Regions from separate parts of the Homo sapiens genome. Here region 2 is linked to region 1. Evidence: promoter capture Hi-C in 16 types of primary human blood cells and fetal thymus (Javierre and others, 2016). All regions are on one chromosome and are shown on one strand. The core of a region is centred on a gene start or on the middle of the fragment in contact, and the rest is flanking DNA. Distances in the headings are between cores, read along the strand shown.

Region 1 (5,047 bases), core at 1,914-4,413:
AAGCACAACTTGTATTAATTTTTATGGCAAGCTTATTTTTCACCAAGTGGCATCTAATTCCTTCCTCCCAACTGTCTCACTCTTGCTAGTCACCTTGGACTCCCCACAGTTCTCTTATCTGGACTGTGTCTATGAAGTAAGTGAAGATTTTCATGTCAAAGAATCCCTTTGAGTGAAATGGATGAAGAAATGTAATTAATAAAGGTGGAGAATTTTTGAGCCTAAGCTTTCCAGCTCAGTTGGTAAGCCTGTGATTTTTAGCAGAAAGACTTTAATAAAAATCTATCCTAGGTACAGTTTCTGCATGAGGGAAGAATAGTTTCAGTGGAGTCATTAGTGTCTATATAATTGAATATCTCACTACTAGGACTTTTAGAGGCATTGAAGGAAGGAATTCTCAGCCAAAGAGTAGGCCTTGCTGACCCATAAGGAATACAGACCTCAGAGAAAAAGATGTAGCTGCGATTTCTGCCAGACAATCAATAGCAGCTGATGTGAAATAAATTCTAAATACAGACACAGTCAATATCAAGACACAGTCAATATTAAAGCACAGTCAATATAGTATCAAGACAATATTATATATTTCATGTATTTAATGCCAATAACAATGGTTCAAAATTCAATAGCAGTAGGACACACCAATTAATAGTAACTTTTTATTTAATTAAATCTTGGATCTCTTGAAATCAATATACAAATGAATTATGTAAATATTTTGATTGAAATGTCGGGCACCTAAGAAAACAATGACAACTTTGGGTTCTTCTAAAGGTCCCAACATGACTATTCTGCTACCTTCATATTTAAAATATATATATATTTCTTATTAAAAACTGAAGTAAGTTTTACAACCTGTGATGTACCAGCTCCTTCAAAGAATTCTTTTTTCTTAGGAATTAATTTCATAATCACACCGAAGAATGGCTGTAATGGAAGAGTTAGATAAGAAGTAAAGATAAAGGCAGGTAGACCACAGTTGGCAGTGTAGCATTCCCAGTCAAACCTCTGGATTAGAAGACTGTATATAACTATCACATACTTGCTTCCAAAACATTACTCAGACCGAGAGTATAGCCCATAGCATCTACCACAAGCACAAGAATTGATCCTGACACTTTTGGTTCTCTATCTAGGAGTGGCTTTGAAATACATTTGAGTTCCAATTTACTGATGGCAAATCCTGATATGAAAAATTTGGAAATGAAAAACAATCCTCAGCATGTTACTTGGTGAAAAGAGAGCAGAGGAAAAGGACAGAGGCTAGAGATTGGCTCCTGCCTGCATTCGTGAATTTGTCTAAATCACTTAGCTTCTGAGCCTGGGTAAAATGAGGATGGTAATTACACTTGTCACCAGATAACGTGAATATTGCCCTTCAAACTCCTCAATGAAGCCTGCACTGTGGAACTGCAATGTCCTAGGACCGGGTTGCTCTTAGAACATTTTGTTCTAAGTGTATCCTAACAAGTGTAGCAAAACTGGAAGACACAAAATGTATTTCCTCCCCACAAGAATGAAAGCCTTCCTAACTCCAAATTTAGGCACAGCCTGTAAAAGATGTGACTAGTAAACACAGAAACCATTTGCTTTATAAGGTCTAAATTGTCCTCTTCTCCAGAGTTGTAGAAGCCAAGTCCAACACGGAGATCCCTACTTTTATTCAAGTTCCACCATTAGTCAACTCATGTCCAGGATGTCTTCTTTAATATATAAAATGGGGATACTTTTTTATATTATTATTCAACTTAAGAGACCACTGTGAAATTTCAGTGAGGTAACGTATGTGAAATGTTATACTCCATAAGTTCTTAAACACCTGAGTTTCATACCATGCTCTGAAGCAAGAGGCCAAGTCTGGTTCCTGGGTCCGCTTCCCCAATGGGCTTTTCCAAGCTGTAGGCTGAGTCTAAACTGTTTCCTCCCACATACCCTTCCCTCTGCGACACACTAACAACATCCCTTACTCCATCACTGTCTTCCTTACCCTCTCCTGATGAGCCTTCTTCCCCAGCCACCTTTAAGCTCCCATTAATGATATGTGTAACGAGTGTTCAATAGAGTGTGTGTGTGTATATTTAATGCCATTTATATGTTTTTTCTTGCTAAGTAATGCATCATAATTTTAGAAAATTGGGACTAGTCAGATAAAGCACCCGTTGGTTTAGAATCCCTGACTCAAAGTCAGATGTCCTGAGTTCTAGACTTGGTTTGTCTCCTTGTAAGTGCAAAAGTTTATTCCCAATTCCAGGTTGCTAGTGTAAACTTGAAGTTTGGCCCAAACAAAACCCCTATCAGATTTATTTAGAGTGTTGATGCCAAATGGAATTCTAGAAGCCCACCTTTGCCAGGGGCTGAGCCAGAACCACTATCACTGGGGGTACGGCCTGGGCATTTGTTCTGCGTTTTTTATAAGCCCCTCGGGTGACTGTCAGACAGGCCAACTGTTTCAGAAGCTCTGCTCCAGGCTCTAGATCACACGTTAAGTAGCAAGGATGGGGGTCTGGACCTCCAGTATTGGCATCCTCCGAGAGCTTGTTAGAAAGGATGTCTCCCTCATTATCCCAGGCCTACTGAATCTGAATCTTGCATCTCATCACAATCCGCAGGAGATTCTGTCACACACTGAGGGTTTGAGAAGCACTGCTGTACCTTGGTATCTTTAGATACCTACTGATACCTGGGTGGGCCCCACCCAGACATTGTCCTGTACTTGTTCTGGGATGCGTCCGGGGCAAAGGGTTCTTACAAGCTCCCCAAGTTATTTTAATGCACAGCCACAATAGAAGATCACTGTCCCCCAAATGGCAACCCTTTACGGTTAAGCTGTAACCTGAATTAAATTGGCTTTTGTGGGCTCCCCAGGGACCTTAAGGACCGCTTAAACGGTGCTGTTTAAAGGACAATGGGCTCCTGGGACAAGTTCAACCACAGAGCTTTGGGTTCATAAAATCAGGGCAGGGAAGACTTCCTGCATCCTCCCGCGAGCAAGCCAGGCCCCGCGCCGGTCCTCACCCGTGTGCACCCCCAGCCCGGCCCCGCCCGGCTCGCCCCCTCCCGCCCCGCGGCCCGCCCCTCCTCCCCCGTGACGTGCCGCTGCGGCCAGGATCATGCGCACTCGCGCCCCGCTCCCCGCGCGGCTGCTCCGCCTCGGCGCCTGTCATTCTCCGCGGCGCGGCGGCGAGTGCTGGCTGCGGTACCCTCCCGCTCGCTTGTCCGTCTGCGCGCCCGCGATGTGACCAGCCGACTGGGGGCGGGCTGGCGGCTCTGCCTGCGGCAGCGCATCGGTTTTTCTCCTGGCAGGTCCCTAATTGAGCCGTGATTCCCTTGGAGCCAGAGACACCCACCAGGGGCTCGGAGCGCCGCGCTCCGGGGCTGGAGGCAGCTGCAGCGCTCGGGTCCGCGCGGCCGGGTGCAGTAGCCTCAGTCCCAGCCGCCGCCTCGCTGAGTCGTGTGCCCTGGCGAATGCCCGGCGCCCGGCACAGCTGAGCCAAGGCGACTGGTGCAGAGCGGCGGCGCCTGGTCCTGCACTTGCCGCTGCTGCCGGGCTGTGCCGGGGCGGCGGCGCTGCGCGCCGGAGTTTGCAGAGGCTGCCTCCGAGCGCCGTCCGCCAGGAAGACTCCCTGCCTCCTGAGTCCCAGTAAGTTGACTGTAGTTTCTGAAGTTGGAGGGAGCCGTGGGAAGGAGAGGTTCGTTTTTATCTTCTTGTGGGAAGCCGAGGGTGGCACCTCTTGTTAACAGAGTTCCAGCTCGAGGAGGGAGTGCGGGGTGCCAAGAAGGGGACAAGGCAGCTGGAAGGTCTGGAGTCCAGGGCTGGCTGACCTCAGCATCTCACGAATGTGCCAGTTGGAAATATGCTGGGAGAGGACAGGTACTCCTAGGGCATTTCGACTGCTGCGTGCTAATTATTCATTCCAAGCTCCTTGACTCTGTGTTTACGTTGGGGTGAAGGGGCTGGGCAGGGTCTTGTCACCTCCATCCTAATTCCTCTGGGGAGTGTGGCCAGCACTGCGATGGATCTTTGGGCGAGCCATTTCTTTCAGGCCTGCAGGCTTCCCGCGCATCCCGCTTTACTCTTCCCCTAGGCAGAAGTTGCCAACCTTTTCATAATTGGAGCCTAGTCCTTTAGGGAAAAAACAACTTATATGTCGACCCGGTGTTTTATGCCCTAAGGCAAATAAAACGAGCTCTGGGCGTGTGAATTCATACACTTTAAGAATGTAGGCAAGTCTCAAGAAATAGGATTCAGATAATGACACTTGGATTTCACCCTGATTGTCCTGCACCTCTTATGTAAGCCTCCCGGCTGGATAACTTTATCTCTGCAGTGGCTGCAGCTGTGGCCCTCCATTCCATTTGTTTAAAGTCCAATTGAACAGTATTTACTGAAAATGCTGACATGATATAGCGGCCTGAAGTCTGAAACAGAGTGCACTCTTCAAATTGGAGTGTCTTCTCCTAATAGGGAGCATGGGAGGAACAACCCACTATATTTTTCAAGGCAGCTCCAGGAATTAGACCCATAAATCATGTTTTAAAATAGCATGCATTGTGCAGAGAGCATGCAGAGGACCGCTTTTTGAACACATCCCCTTTGTTTTAGAAAAAGTGGAAATTGTTCATGCCAGACAATTGTTGAGTCTAAAAGTTAAGTGTACTGATGGGCCTAATTATCTTAATAAACAAAGAGCATGATTTATAGGTAGCTGCAGTGCCCTACTTTGAAGGATAGAAATCTTTAACCTTTCTTTCTCAGCTGTTCCCGAGAGATTCCTTTTAAGCAGAGCTATGGATTATCATCATTGATGTTTAATACCTGAGTTGGTTAAACTTGTAAAAGGAATAGTACTTTGAAGTACCATGCAGTACTGCTGTGTGACTGTTACACAGCGAATATTATAAATAAGAGGAATATTTGGAGTATTGGGTATAGATGTCATTAGTTTAACAAAATAGGTCATATTAAGACTTTCCTGCTAAATATATATACACATACATAAATGTTTAATTTGGACTTGAAATTATTGTTTAAACCAAAGCTCAGGGG
Region 2 (5,523 bases), core at 2,790-5,289, 1.0 Mb after region 1:
CAGAGACTATTGACATGCCTTTCTCGCTAAGCTTAATCATTTCTAGCTTTTGATTTAAAGTGAAAGATGTGCTACTCTTCCTGTCATTTGAACACCTAGAGGCCATCGTAGGGACATTAATTGGCCTAATTTCCATATTGTTGTGTCTCATCAAATAGGGAGGCCTGAGGAGAGGGAGAGAGATGAGAGAATGGCCAGTTTGTGGAACAGTCAGAGCACAAACATTTATCGATTGAGTTTGCCATCCTGTATGGGTGTCGTTTGTGGCATCCCAAAACAATTACAATAGTAACATCAAAGGTCACTGATCACAGATGACCATAACAGATATAATAATAATGAAAAAGTTTGAAATAATGAGAGAATTAGCAAAATGTGATGCAGAGACACAAAGTGAGCATGTGCTGCTGGAATAATGGCACTAATAGATAGACTTTCTGGACACAGTGTTGCCATAAACCTTCAGTTTGTAAAAAACATACTGTGAAGTGCAATGAAGTGGAGTGCAGTAAAACAGGAGTATGCCTGTACATGTAAACATGCTTTCTTTGGTGCTACTTCAGATACTTAGGAAGCCTTGACCATAGTCCAAGCAGATGAGTTTTGGTGCTTGAGTATTTTACCCCAGGCAGACTAGGAGAAGTTTGTGTGTGTGTGTGTGTGTGTGTGTGTTTGTGTGTGTGTGTTTGATAGTCTTTATTTATTTTGAGACAAGTTCTTGCTCTTGTCACTCAGGCTGGAGTACATTGGCACAATCATGGCTCACTGCAGCCTTGACCACCTGGGCTTAAACAATCCTCCCACTTCAACCTCTTCAGCAGGTGGGACTGCAGGTGCACACCACCATGCCCAACTAATTTTTGTATTTTTCATAGAGACGGGTTTTTGTCATGTTACCCAGGCTGGCCTCAAATTCCTGAGCTCAAGCAATATGCCTGCTTTGGCCTCCCAAAGTGTTGGGCTTGGAGGCGTGAGCCACTGTGCCTGGCCGATAGTATGTATGTATGTATGTATGTAGAGATGGAGTCTCACTCTGTTGCCAGGCTGGAGTGCAGTGTCGCGATCTCAGCTCACTGAAACCTCCGCCTCCTGGGTTCAAGCGATTCTCCTGCCTCAGCCTCCTGAGTAGCTGGGACCACGGGCGCATGCCGCTACACTCAGCTAATTTTTGTATTTTTAGTGGAGACAGACGGAGTTTCACCATGTTGGCCAGGATGGTCTCGATCTTTTGACCTCATGATCCTCCCACCTTGGCCTCCCAAGTGCTTGGATTACAGGCATGAGCCACCGCACCCGGCCTAGTCTTTGTATTTTAGGGCAGTTTTGGGTTTACAGAAAATTGAACAAGTAGTGCAGAGTTCCTTCACGCCCCTAGTTTCCCTTATTATTAACACCTTAAATTCATATGGTACATTTGTTACATTTGGTTAATGCTGAGACATTATTATTAACTAAAGTCTGTAGTTTTTATTAGTGTTGTCCAGTTCAATGGATTTTGACAGATGCATAATATGTAGCCACCATTGCAGTATCATACAGAATACTTTCACTGCCCTAAAAATCACCAGCACCCCAACCTAGTCATTCCTGCTTGCCTCCCCCTCAGCCCTTGGTAACCATTGATCTTTTTACTGTCTCCATAATTTTGTCTTTTCCAGAATGTCACATAGTTGAGATCTTACAGTATTTTGGCTTTTCAGATTGGCTTTTGTCAATAATATGCATTTAAAGTTTCTTTGTGTTTTTTCACAGCTTGCTAGTTCATTTCTTTTTAGTGCTGAATAATATTCCACTGTCTGGATGTACCACAGTTTATTATCCATTCACCTACTGAATGACATCTTGGTGGTTTCTTGTTTTTGGTGATCATGAATAAAGCCACTATGACCATTCACTACAGGGTTTTGTGTGGTCATAAGTTTTCAGCTCATTTGGGTAAATACCTGGGAGTGCAATTGAAGGATCTGTGATATATTCTTGGTCCCAGCATCTCTCCTCCTGCTGACAATTACCCTCCTTATTGTGACAACCTAACCAGGCCTGCCTCTCCCAGGGCTTCCTCTTCTTCACTTAGAGCATTTTCTGAACAAGTCTGGACACAAAGGTCTTGCTTATATTTTCAGGAAAGAGTATTTAAAATACTTCTTAATCATGGTTCCAACTTATTTCAACTCTTATAATTAAGTGATCATTTTTTTTTTAAATTATGGTAGAATATGTGTATATAAGATATAATTTGTGATTTTAACCATTTTTAAGTATACAGTTCAGTTGTATTCATCATATTCACATCATTGTGTAACCATCACCACTATCTGTTTCCAAAACTCTTACCTGGGGATATGATCATTTTAAAAGAGGAATTTGAAGAAATACATCTGAAGCTATATTTGGCAATATGTTTCCATCAGTAACTCCCAAAATCTCAGTGGCTATTGGCAACAATCTTTATGTCTCCCTCATGTTATATATACATACATATATATATATATATATATATATATATATATATATATATATATATATATATATAAAATTTTCTTTTGTCTAGAACTTAGTCACATGGCCACATCTAACTGCAAAGGAGCCTGGGAGGTGTAGTCTAGCTACCTGCGTAAGAATAAGAACAAATTGGCTTGGCGATTTGTTAGCATTCCTGGCCATATTAAGTAAGATTATTAAATCATACACATTGTTAACTTGATCTTTCAGAGATGACATGACAGTAATTGTATGGTTTCATAGATCTGGCTGTGTTTCAGGAGAGCATTTTTCCATCCCATGCTCTCTTTCCATCTAAACGTTAATTATCTTATCCTTTTAACACTGAGAGAGCTTCCTGGAATAAATAAAATTATATGCCTATTTTGATAAATACCTGTTTGATAGCGATGTTTTATAAAACTCTGAGAAAAGTCAACAAGGAGCCTTCACAGTGATTAATACAGCAGTTATTATGGTCAGATGTTAAAAAAAATCTCATGTCTTCAGTCTTGTGCCAAAAGGCAAAGAAAGTTTTGAAGCTTTCCACACACTGATTTGGTTTCAAGATAATGGGCTACTATTGAGTTTACATGTAGCATTGGTCTTCTGCTATTGTCTTTATAAAGGAAAGTATGTGAAATTTGGAATTGGAAATGTCATTTCTTAACCAGAGTAGCAGGTTCAGATGGTGAAGCTATCACTTTTGGCACAGGACTCTTGTTTCTTAATAAAATTTAATGAAAAATTGACAAGATTTGTGCAGTGTATATTTTTTTTAATGGTTGACCCACTGAATGCATCTAATTAGCTTATTACAGTTTAAAAGCAAGTTTAACTGCCTAAATGTATGACTTGGTATTTTGATCTTGTTTGTTAGGTCTCAGCTTGCTGATGATAGAAGTTTGTGGTCCAATATTAATTTTAAATAAGTGCCTACTGTTCTCTAGAAACTCCCATTCCCTTAAGGAAAAGTGTTTCATATGAGCCTCTCATTGCCAGGAATAGCTGTGTAAGCATTGTGGAAGTTTTTTCCACATTAAAATGTAGTCCACCAGTTCATTTATTCCTTTTAGGGTTGTGACAGTCGCTTGTGTTTATGCACCCCTGTAGAGCTGTCTTTAAACTCATTCAGCAAATTGGAAACATTTAGCTTGGATGACACCTCTTTAATCTTCCAGTAATCTCACCATAGAGACCACTGTACTCTCAAATACATTGTTAATACTTTTAGTAAGAATGGCCTGCTTTCATTCTCTTATTACTGAGCCATTATTCTGGACTCTGTTTATTATTATTATTATTATTCCAGAGTCGAAATAATTATCCCGTTGAAAAGACCAAGCATGTGCACACCCTGTTGTGACACAGCCGGTTTTGTCCTATCTGAACTTGCCTGCTTTGTGAACTGTTAGGGTCTCAGAAAAACAAAAAACAAAATCTTTTATTTTTAACATTTAATTTTTTATAGTTTTTATATTTTTTAATTGAGACAAAATATATGTATATAATTTACCATCTGTACCATTTGAAATGTACACTTCCTTGGTAATAAATATATTCTTTATTCCCCCTTCCACCTTTATTCCATCCTTTATTCCTACCCCCACCCCTGCTCAACTCCTCCTCTTCCCAGCCTCTGGCAGTAATTTAAAGTGTGAGTGACAATCTCACCTCTTATAATTATGTGATCTTTTTTTTTTTTTAAATTGTGGTAGAATGTGTATAACACGGAATTTGTGATTTTACTCTCTCTTCACGAGATCTACAGTTTTTAGCTCCACTTGAGTGAGAACGTGTGACAGTTGTATTTCTGTTCCTAGCTTATTTCACTTAACATAATGACCTCTAGTTCCACCCATGTTGCTGCAAATGACAAGATTCATTTTTTTATGGCCAAGTAGTAATAAATTGTGTATATATACCACAATTTTCTTTATTCAACTATTAATGAATATAGGTTGATTCCATATCATTGCTATTGTGAATAGTGCTTCAATAAACGCGCACGTGCAAATATCCTTGACATCTGATTTCTTTACATTTGGGCAAATACCCAGTAGTAGGATTGCTGGATCTATTAATATGTTAATTCTGTTTTTAATTGTTTTGAGAAATCTCCATACTGTTTTTCACAGTGGCTGTGCTGGGAAGATGTGTCAGTGGGTGGGGGGAGGATAAAACGAGGTTAGTTAATGGTTACAAACATACCTTAGAAGGAATAAGTTCTAATGTTCGATAGCAGTGTAGGATGACCATAGTTAACAACAATGTATTGTAGATTTCAAAATAGCTAGAAAAGAGGACTTGGAATAATGCCAACACACAGAAATGACGAATACTCGAGGTGATAGATGCCCCAAACCCCTAATTTGATCATTACACAGTGTAAGCATGTGATAGAGTATCATATTTGTGCCCCCATATACATGTACACATATTTGTATCAATAAGAAATATATACAAAAAGCCAAACCTTTTTAGCTATAAAATCTGTCTCTTATGTTCAAATGTATATAGTTAGAAAGTGCTGGAGTCCTGTAACATCAGTATTCAGAGTTTACTCAAGCTTTCATCCTCAGGCAAACTTAGCAGCTGTTATCTAAAGCCAGACTTGCAGCATCAGAAATCACCTGGAGCTTGTCCAGAAAGCAAGAGTCTTGGGCTCCACCCCAGACTTTCTAACTCAGAATCTGTAGTTCCACAGGCTCCCCTGGTGGCTCTGGTATGTAATAAAGTTATTTGAGAAGCACTGGCTGGAGATCTTTTACCTGAGCCTGTAATCATGGAATCACCCATCAGTATGTGGAGTGACCATAACATTTCAACTCAAACTCTATTTCTAAAATGAAAAAATCTGTCTATTGTATCTAATTAAGTATATGACAAATATCAAGCTCTCTTTCCACTATTTTCTGGTGTTCTCATGATCTGACAATGACAGTGGCAGGACCATGTACTGAGATGACCGAAGTGAAAATAGTAATGCTCTTTTGTGTATTTTTTTTTTTTTTTTTTGAGATGGAGTCTCTGTCGCCCAGG

The links. Contacts are between HindIII fragments. The CHiCAGO score rates a contact against its expected background, and 5 or more counts as called.
Region 2: a fragment that was not itself captured here is called in contact with the fragment with the promoter of PAG1 in region 1 in 1 of 17 cell types (total B cells); the score reaches 5.4 in total B cells.

Annotation. Positions count from the first base shown.
Region 1 is chr8:81,110,184-81,115,230 of GRCh38, reverse strand. PAG1 (phosphoprotein membrane anchor with glycosphingolipid microdomains 1) reads left to right here and starts at 3,163. Exons shown (of 9, transcript NM_018440.4): 1 at 3,163-3,640. RefSeq lists a silencer at 3,028-3,157 and an enhancer at 3,648-3,717. The HindIII fragment of the contact is 5,316 bases long and covers 229-5,047 here.
Region 2 is chr8:80,091,441-80,096,963 of GRCh38, reverse strand. All of the region lies in intron 1 of TPD52-MRPS28 (TPD52-MRPS28 readthrough), which reads left to right. All of the region lies in intron 1 of TPD52 (tumor protein D52), which reads left to right. It overlaps LOC105375918 (a long non-coding RNA gene), which reads right to left. Exons shown (of 3, transcript XR_007060978.1): 3 at 4,740-5,258. Among named protein-coding and RNA genes, the nearest start is that of MRPS28, 64 kb to the right of the region's middle. The HindIII fragment of the contact is 2,027 bases long and covers 3,026-5,052 here.